Linked DNA regions of Homo sapiens: region 2 is linked to region 1. The links are contacts of gene promoters, found by promoter capture Hi-C in blood cells and fetal thymus (Javierre and others, 2016). All regions are on one chromosome and are shown on one strand. The core of a region is centred on a gene start or on the middle of the fragment in contact, and the rest is flanking DNA. Distances in the headings are between cores, read along the strand shown. Region 1 holds the start of TMEM200A (transmembrane protein 200A). Region 2 has its middle 200 kb from the start of SMLR1.

Evidence for each region. Contacts are between HindIII fragments. The CHiCAGO score rates a contact against its expected background, and 5 or more counts as called.
Region 2: a fragment that was not itself captured here is called in contact with the fragment with the promoter of TMEM200A in region 1 in 2 of 17 cell types (activated CD4 T cells and megakaryocytes); the score reaches 5.3 in activated CD4 T cells.

What each region holds. Positions count from the first base shown.
Region 1 is chr6:130,362,933-130,368,107 of GRCh38, reverse strand. TMEM200A (transmembrane protein 200A) reads right to left here and starts at 2,091. Exons shown (of 3, transcript NM_001258277.2): 1 at 1,584-2,091. It also overlaps a transcript of SAMD3 not described here. RefSeq lists a silencer at 2,558-2,657. The HindIII fragment of the contact is 9,800 bases long and covers 1-5,175 here.
Region 2 is chr6:130,623,616-130,628,790 of GRCh38, reverse strand. No RefSeq gene overlaps it. Among named protein-coding and RNA genes, the nearest start is that of SMLR1, 200 kb to the left of the region's middle. RefSeq lists a silencer at 2,313-2,607. The HindIII fragment of the contact is 1,494 bases long and covers 2,268-3,761 here.

The sequences.
Region 1 (5,175 bases), core at 842-3,341:
AAATAACAAGTACAGCCATCCCTCTTTACAATGATCTTTCCTGAAGAATCCCTTCTGATTACGGGTGTCTTCAGACACTACAGCATTTACCTAGACCTGCCTCAAAGGCAACAGGTGAAGCCTTTCTGTGCTAACTGCCTGGAATTTACCTACAGGGACTTTCCATACAACTCTAATGAAGGCTTTCCCAGCCCAGATACAAAGCTAATTATAACCAGGGTTACAAATTATAGTTACATTATCTCATAATTATGAGCTATCTAGTAGGACTTGGTTAAAAAATCATTCTAAACACCTCAGTGTGTGTTTTTTACAGTAAAAAAATCATACTGTTAAATTGTCAAAGCATTTAACTATAGTTTCCACTTAATGGAAGCATTATTTTCTGTTTAGAAGGACTTCTATTCTTCACTTGAGGTGTTTATAAAGAATGAAACTACAACTACATACTTCTGTGTAGGTAAACAGTGGGAAAATAAAGTAAGGTTTAAAAAGTTTCAAAATTTAGTCTACTTTTCACAAAATGATAATGCTTTCTAGTATCAGTAGCCAAATAACAAATTGAAGGTCTTTTTATAAGTGTTCCATAATTCAAGAAACGACAAAGTAAATAGCTTTCACAAGCTCTGGTAATATTTATGCATACAGCACTATAGAAAGTGTGCCTCAAACTTGGTTTGATTGCAAAACCGAGAGTTCAATATTCTTTCTTATAAACAAGAATAATCATCGATTCTTGAAATGTTTTCTATGCAGTTGTCCATAACTACTTCTGAAGGTATTCAGAAGAGACAAGGCAAGAGACACTTTAGTCCAACATATTTAGTTTTTAAATACACCAGACTAAGGTGGACCGGACTAAGGCTGATTCCAATTAGTCAATTACCTGTATGTGCTGCATCTGCCTTTCTCTCCGACATTACCAATGCCCGGTACTGAACAATGAATTGTTATTTAAAAAAAACACACAAACACACACACATTTTTCTAAATCAAACAGCGGTAAATACACACAGAGAGCTTGCGCCTACACAATGTGAAGTGTTGGCTGGAACAATTTATAGCAAAAGAATGATTAATGAAGCAAATCTTAGAAGCCCTCAGTCCTTTCTCTTACAGACAAGACTACAGGGAGAAGAGTAGTGCTGAATTTTGCAAATAATTGCTTTGCCTCTCCATTTTGCCTGTGTAGATTCTACCCCATCCAGATACTGCTTTACGAAACCCTGACCATACTTTGCTCAATCATGAATTAACGCTGTGGACATTACAGAGAATGCTGACTCTCAGGAACCGAGACAAAGGAGGGTGTTGCTTGGAGAAACCCAGCCAGGCGCTCCAGTACTCCGGGTTCTTGGAGGCTGCCCCGCACGGCTTCTCTCGCGCTCCCGGGACTGGGGAGTCTGGACCTGATGGCGGACTTGGTTTATTTCCCAAACTTTAGGAGAGACAGCGTTTACCTAACTCTGGAGGCTGTAGCGGAGGGGAGGGGAGGGCAGAGGGCTGAAGAAGTGCCCGGTTTCGGCTGCGGTGGCCGCCCACCCACCTCCCCACTCCCGTCAGCACCCTTTCCTTCCCCTCACCTGTCCTGAGCACCGGGCCCTGGGGGTCGGGTCGCCTCTCCCTGTTCTCAGTCCTGGTCTCACTCCAGGAGCTGTCGGGACGTCGGGCGCCTCTGGAGGCGGACGAAGAAGGCGGCAGGGTCGGGGGCGTCAGCGGGAATCTCGGCCGCCGCGGGCAGCCGCGGTCTCCCTCCCCATCCCAGGGCTCGGGCGGCCACCGCGGGCGGATGAGTCAGGCGAGGGGGCGGGTGGCAAGGGGTGCAAGCGGACGGAGGGTGGGGGCGCCCCTATGCCCGCGCCGGGGGGGCACCGGAGGCCTCGGGGCAGGGGATGCGCCGCTGCCGGTGCTCACAGAGGGCCGCCGCCATCCGGGCGCAGAGTCCAGGCGCGCCTGCCCTCGGAGGGCACCGGGCGCAGCAAGCCGGGCAGGGGAGAGGGAGTCGCCGCTCAGGCGGCGCCGCCACCGCGTCCAAGAAAGACAAAAGGGACCGGGAACGGGAGGGGAAAAGTTTTCTGCTCGGCTCCAGATGGATCCCAGCCCCAAACCTCACGCCATAAAGCCCCGAAGAGGCGGGTTGGGGGCGGGGGCCGGGGCGGACTTCCAGGGGCGTGGCTGCGCGCCTGCGACCCCGGACCGTGCCAATCTCGCCGCCGCCCCAAAACCTGTGGGAAACCCCAGTCCTGCCACCCACTCCTCCTGGAGGACGCAGACAGGATCTGCTCTGCAGGAGCCCAGGCCGGCCGATCCGCGTCCCGGCCACAAAGTTGCACTTCGAGAGCCCAAATCACCCGCAGACAAAACCCATCTTTGGGAACAAAGTACCCGCTTGCAGGCGCTCTTCCCGGGCTGGAAGGCTGGCGTGCGGAAACGGACACACCCACCCGTGGGGCCCGCCTCTAGCTACCGCGGGACCACCGGTTACCGAGCCAGGGACCCGGCTCCCCCAGTTCTCCGGAGCGGCTGGGGAGCTCCAGCCGACTCGCAGTATTCCCGGAGCAGGCACCGCAGGACCCTGGCTCCACGCCCCTCGGACGCTTTCTCCTCAGATGCCGCCCGGCGGGCCGGGGTCCCCCTGGCGGGCTGCGCGGGCGCTGCGCGAGCTAAACCAAACCTGGCCGGAAAAGACGCGGCCAAGGCCCGCTCCGTCCACGCTTCCCGCCGGCCCGGCAAGGGGTTCCGGAGAACGGCTTGGGGGGGCGAGAACCATGGGCGGGGGAAATGGAAGACAGAGGGAACTGAAGCACGGGGGTCTTCGATGAGCAGTGCGGATGTTCGACTCCAAACATCAAAGCCAACGAGAGGTTCAGGTTACTCCTCCTTGACCCCAAACATCCAGTGAGTGGAGACTGGCCTGTTCACAGAGTAAAATATGTCGTCTCTAATTCGGCAAAGACGGTGATGACTGTATATATGCAGGCCAATTCCGTAAGTAAAGTTTCATGTAAAACTAATTACCGGATATTCCAACCACCCCCTGTGCAGGCCAGCCGCATGCACAAGGTGTGTGCTATGCTTGTGTCCCCTGGATCTGTTTTAAGTGATAGAAGGCAAGTATGATATTCTGGTGCAGTGTATTTGTTTATTTCGGCGTGTGATCTGTTTATCTCGTTTTCAAGAAAAGTTTGCTTCTGGGGGGGTATAAAATCCGTGTTTGGGGGGTGGGGGAGAGCCATGCAAAAATTTCCACATTAGAAAAAAAAGTCTTTAAAATCAGATATGGCAATGAGAAGAGACTGTAGAAATGGATTTCCTGTGGTATAACCTTCTTGCCTTGACTAGAAGAATTTAGAGATTGGGCACTTTTAGTGGAGATGTCACAATCAAAATGTTTTATAAAAAGAAAGAAAAGAAAACTAAAGGAGTTACGGTGGGGGAAGGATGAGTCACCTTTATAAACCATCTGTGGTTTTATTTTTACCCCACCTGCATCTAGTATTCTAGCCCACAGCCACCTGCTCAATTCTCTTAGGTTTTCTTAAATGTGTTTGTCAAGCACCATATCAAAGGAGTGTGCTTCCATTGGGCCCTCTTCCTAGTTACCTCTACATTTTATAAAGAAACACCCTGAAGCCACATTGTCTGTAAAGCTCCTGAGAGGAAACACCTCCTGGTTCCCCTCACTATCTAAGGAGTGAGTAATAGGAATAGGCTCATAGTCCATAGATCATTTGAGGTGACATCCTCTCTAAGACCCATGGTAAAACGTTTAAAATGGTCATCTAGCCATTTTAAGCATTGAGTGACTGAGCCGTCCTCAAAAAGAGACTGATGAGAGCCATGAAAAAAGGAATAAGCACATTCTTAAGGCCACAGATATTGATGCTTCCTCATTTATGAACTATGAACTCAGATTTTAGTGATTTACCAAAAAAGAAGAAAGATAGACTAAGTAAAATCACCAAAAGGGAATTATTTAGATTTCTTTTTAAAATAATTACTATTAGTCTCAGAAGAGGCGGGTAAAATGGCCTGTAAATAGAGGATTATTTGCAATTCAGTAGTCCGAGCAACTCTCAACACATTAGTTATAAATTTTCCCTGACCTTGAGTGCTCAAGGGAATCTCAGGTAAATTATTTATCCTTACTAATGGCCAATATCTTCCCATCTGACAGTGAATATACCATGCCAGTAATGGATTTTGAATTCAGCTACACATCGGCTTTGGAAATAATGGATAGAAGTCAACTATTTTCTACTTCTCGCCATCAAGTAGCACTGCACTTCACACATAATATTTTTTGCTGTGTCTATATGAGATATGTAAATTTCCACTAGAACAAGCCCATCTTATAAGAGTGCATAGTAGAAAGAGAGTAATCCAAGTGTCCTGTAATCCAAGCTCCACCACCTACTAACAGAGGGACTTGGTACCTCATTTCTCCCATCCCTTAAGTAGGAACAAAGTATCTATTTCAAAGTGTTGTGAAAATTGAATGAAATGATGTGTATAATATTCTTCCTACAAGTCACAGATCCTCAATACATATGTGATTGAACATATATACACTCACATCAAACTTGTTTTAATGCAATTAACATCATCAAAAAAAGGCTCTTCCTCTGGAATCAAGAATTAACATGAAAAAAGGTCAAAATATGAAGATCAACATTTTCACTCTTGGTATAGTATTATAAAAGTCTGATGGATGGCAATTCATATTTAATGAATTAATTTTGGAAACATACGTTGAAATGAAAAAGAATGAGTATTCTTAAGAGGTCATGTAACAAGGCTAAGAGAAGGGCTATTAGAAAATTTGTGTGGGATTATATTCATTTCCTCTTGCCTTAAATGTAGCCCATAGCATTTTTAGGCCTGAGAAGGGATCCTTAAACAGAAAATAAAAATGTCTTCAATGGGAAAAAATAGAATTGTTTGCTAGATTTTTATCTGAATGGCTTTGTTCTTGATGTGAAATAGATTGATAGTCTTAAAACCCCTGTAGTATTTCTGCTAGCAGCCATGGGTGCTTTTTCAAAGTAGAGGGTAAAGTCAATAAAGAAAATGAACTTTCTGACTTTATTCTTGAAATAAGTAAATAGGGGGAGGAATATAGGATAAAGAAAAAGGTAGAGGAAATATATTTAAAAATAAAATTTTAAGGTCATT
Region 2 (5,175 bases), core at 1,765-4,264, 260 kb before region 1:
CAGGGTTGCTGGAGGGACAGTGACCCTGCACACTCTGGTGCACACTTGCAGGTTGGAGGCGGCCCTCTGGGCCCTGAACTAAGAAACCTAGAGAGTCCCAAATTTGAGAAGAGGTTTTCCGGAGGTATTTGCTTTTCATTTACGCCCCTTTTCAGAAGTCTTGCTAATTTCAAGCAGTGTACTTTATAGTTTCTTGTGAAAATATTTTCTCAGTAGTATTTTCTGTCATTAGTCCAAGTAAGATTAATTAAAATACATGCATGTTTGGCCTTGTTAAGCAGTTTTGAGACAGATTATTCTAAGATTAAATCTGTCATGTTTAAAGCAAGATCACAGATAGAAATTGTATACTTTATTGATCAACTGTATAGTGTGTTAATATGGCTTTTAATTGATCCTTCTGAAAAAGGGAGGTTACCAGAAAGAAAACATTATAGTTATTCTTATCACCCTCTTCCCCATCCCATGAAGTTTTAGTGGGATCTTTGAATCACAAGTTGTCATGGATTCAGTTCTTTTAATTTTTAAATTTGCCACACATGCCTTTCAATGATTGACATCCCATCGCTCATTACAGGATGGCTACCAAGTCTGGAAACATGGATAAATTCACAATTGATGAATTATTGATATTACATTAAGATATGTGATAAATAATACACATTTATTTCTAGACTTTGTGGTCACCCTCTATAATGAATATTTTTCCAAGTATAATAAACACATTGTTCAAACTGTTCTTAAATCCAATTATAGTTCTTCAAGACATGTATTTATTTTCTGCTACTACTTTTGCAAATGTCACAGGTGTAATATGTGTTTTTTAAAATTAAAGTGAGCATTTTGATACACATTTAAACTAAGGCTTATTTTTTCCTGAATACTAAAGTAACACATGCCTATTGTGAGGAAATTAAAAAATATAAGAATGTACGAAGAAGGGGGACTGTCTTGTATAGTGAATTACCAAGTAATAATCATCACTTGTGTAAGTATAGTTACAGTATTTTTCTATGGGTATATTTTTTCATATTTAGGATTATATTTTTATAAAATGTATACACTTTTTCTTGATAATATGTCATAAATATGTTTCCTTATAATTAAAATACTTTGCAGGTATACTTTTAAATTCTTACATAGTTGTACACAATATAGGATATGTATATTTCATAATCAATTTAAATATTCCTCTATTTTTGAACATCTAGGTTGGTTCGGACATTTTACTCTTATAAAGAACATAGCAATAATGATCTTTGTATGTAAAACTTTCCTGGTCTAAAGCATGTACATATTTTTAAGGCTCCAAGTAAAAAATGCCAATGCATTTTTTTTTTAGCAAGATGGGACTAATTTATAATTCTACTAATTCTAATACTGAGAGTACTAACATAATACTACTAATACTAATGCCAAGAATAAATGATATTTATATTAAAAATAATATATTTATAAAATAGTGTCAATTTATTAAAAGAAAGATAACACCTTGTCAGTTTAATTGATAGGTTGAACACTTTTTTCTTAAATGTACTTGCTACTTATATTTCCTTACCTGTGAATTTCTTGCTCATGTCTTTTGTATAATGATATTTTGGTGGTCATTTATCAATTTAAATTAAGAATGCAACCCTTTGCAATATTCATCATAAATATTTACTCAGTTTTATATGTTTCTTAATTTTTGAATGACACTTTTTAGATACATATATTTTACATTTTTAGGAAAGCAAATACAGTGATTATTTTCCTTTCTGATACCTTCCAATGCTTTCAAGTTTAGAGAGTCCTCCTGATCGAGAGATCAGATCTTCGTCTTTTAAAAAATTAAGTTAAATTAGAATTTACACAGAACTGTTCACTCTCCCATAACTTAATTTGGAATGTGTTTTTAAATAAGATTTGGAAACTTAAATAAAGTCTTTGAGCTTAAGTAAAAAATAATATGTAATGATAAATTTCTGATAGCGCTTGATGATTCTGATCAAATGATCAAATTCATCTAGCCAAATTTGCATTGTCTATTTTAGACTTTAAGGACCAAATTATGTCCATATTCTATAGATCTTTAGAAGTAGAATGAGTTTTGAAGAAAAGTAACTGCGAGGGCAGTTATTAGGTGCTCTGTCTGAGTCCCGTTTCTAAGCTTGTTTGCAGCTATTGCACTTGATTTTAGAGTGAAGCTCTGTAGTTATTATTGGGCAAGCTGAACTAACGCAGTGGTGAGTCAATGGTCACTGTTCTTGCAGACATGAAATGAAGCTTAATTTTCTGAAGAAGCCACTGTCACTGATGTGAAATGGCATTCTAGTGACATTTTCTTCTCAGAAGTTAGTGCTGCTGCCTGTGTTCTGAAATTTAATCTGAGGCCCAGTGGGCAAGTGCTCCGACAGGAGTTAAGAATAATGAGTCATCCCAAGTGCCAACATCTGTTTCAAGTTGGAAATTGATGCACTGTTATTTAAAAACAGGGCTTCTGGCTTTTCACAAATGAACAATTAGCATCTCACTGCTTTAAGAATTTGAAAAATGTTTTTATTTTGCCATCTTATAACTGACTATATAGTGGTGAAATTCTCAAAATTATTTTGAATTTGTGGGAAGAACATTAACGTTATTTGCTTTCTGAATCATTTTTCCCTGGAAATTGAAATTAATTTAAAGGAAATTGTATAGGTCCAGGCACATTTTCAATGAGTGTCACTGAAGATGACAGTTTTATGTGACTAAATTTATGACTCTATGACTCAGACCAGGAGTTGTTTCTTTGGTTGGTAAGGCTAAGTCCCAACCTCAGACCCTCTGGGGCCGAGGTTATAGAATGACTATTGTACAGATGGAACAAGAGTGGGAAATAGTCCCAGGCAGGGAATGGCATCTCCATTTCATGATGAACTTCCTGTCACATTTTATTTCCCAGGTAAGTGGCAGTAATCATAACACTTTAATGAAGAAAATAAACCTTAGGCATGGAAAGATTCCAAATATTTGTATAAAAAGTGAAATGTCTACTTAATTACCCAACCACTTTTAAATAGTCAGGTTTGAGGTATTATGCAGATGAAATGTTTGAATTAATCTCTTTGTTTTTATGTGCCTGTAGTCTTAACATGGCAGATTAATAAATATTTTTATTGATTCTATTCTTGATTGACAACTTATTATTTTCATAAATATGGATTAACTGTGAGAAAACCGAACTACTGATAACTTCAGATAATGAGTTCTGTTTATTATCTTCAGCACTCCCTATCACTCACTTTACCTATTCCACTGTAAATATCTTAAGAATATTCTCAGGGGCCGGTCACGGTGGCTCACACCTGAAATCCCAGCACTTTGGGAGGCCAAGGCAGGTGAATTGCTTGAGCCCAGGAGTTTGAGACAAGCCTGGGCAACATAGTGAAAACCCACCTCTGTGAAAAATACAAAAATTAACAGAGTGTGGTGGTGCACACCTGTAGTCCCAGCTACTTGGCAGGCTGACTTGGGAGGATTGCTTGAGCCTGGGAGGTGGAGGTTGCAGTAAGCTGAGTGACAGAGCAAGACCCCATATCAAAAAAAAAAAAAAAAAAAAAAAAAAAGAATATTCTTAGAAATCTAGTTTGTAGAGAGAAAAATTCTAAAGCTCCAAAATAATTATCAACTTCGCTATCTAACTTCAATTACTGTAAAATCTATTTTATTAATTACTGGTTAAATTTGCTCTAAATTATTCTAAACAAAGGATTTCAATACTAGCAGCTGTGAATTAAGCTTCAGGATCTAGAATTCATTTCAAGATGTGTATATGCTTGTTTGTGCACATTGTACCTTTTTCCTTTCACTCATTTACAGGTATTAAATTCCCTAAGGATGTTCCAGAGAAGTTTCCATTATTCTTTCAGCAGTTAGAGAACTGCTTCCAGCTGAGCACCAGCTTATCCCACCAGCAGGAAAAAGTTTGTTCTTCCTATTATTCTAGCCGTTCACTCATCAATCTTGCTTTAGCAACTTGTTGGGCATGAAAAATTGGTTAGATGAAAGTATTCTCTTGCTTTTGGTATATTTGTTGTCTTACAGGCAGCAATAACAATGACAACAATAAACAGAAAACTAGAGAATTTTGAATATATGCTCTCTCAGGAAAAGTCTGAAAGAAAAAACAGTTATTTTTGGTGTGTTTTAAGAAGCAGCAGCGAGTGTTAACCTTAATAACAAGCAGAGAGACGCTCTATAAAAGAAAATATTTATTTTCTTGAAATAGGGCATTGCAAAGGGAATATGTGTGCCACAGTAAACTATGTGCGTATTCAGGAAGGTAAAAGAAGACCAGGATTTTTAAAAGAAAAATGATAAAGTTTACATAATTGTTTTAAGGTAATTATCCTTGGCTAAAAAAGTCAATAACCTTGCTGGTCTGAGGTTGGACAGGTAGTTGCTGGGCAGATGTCCTTGCAGAAGTATATTTTTGTGTAAAGTTGCCATGGCCTTTGTGCAAAGTTGTGGTTTTGCAGCGTCTTTTGTGATAGTTCTTGCTATTAGTCATTTATGCATGAGAACCCTTCCTTCGTGGACTTTCCCAGCTCTATTTGCCAGAATTTTAAACACAATTTACTCCATTTTGACTCTGACAATGTTCACAGGAGTGTGGGCATTGAAGCAGACTAATACTCTAATTTTTCTAGGTTCAAGATTGAATTTAAATTGACTTAAAATATAAAAATGAAATTATCATTTTTGGGGGATCTGTACAAAAATGCTATTTGTTTCTTTCAAAGGATACTTGGAAAATAAATCTGAAAGTCAACATTTATAGATTTTTCTATAGCTAGTGGAATTATCTGTTTGCAATCCAAACATCTCTGGGGAATTAAAGAAATTAAGGAAACAACCCCATTTACAATGGCTATAGAAAGGACTCAGGAAATGACTTAGCCAAGGAGGTGGAAGACTTGTACATTGAAATTTAGAAAACAATGATGAAAGAAGTTAAAGCAGACACAAATAAATGTAAAGATATCCCATGTTCATGGATTGGAAGAATTAATGTTAAAATGTCTGCACTACTCAAAGTGATTTATAGATTCAATGCAATCTCTATTAAAATCCCAATGGCATTTTTCAAACAAATAGGAAAACAATCCTAAAATTCATATGGAACACATGACCCTAAATAGAGGGATTTCCAGC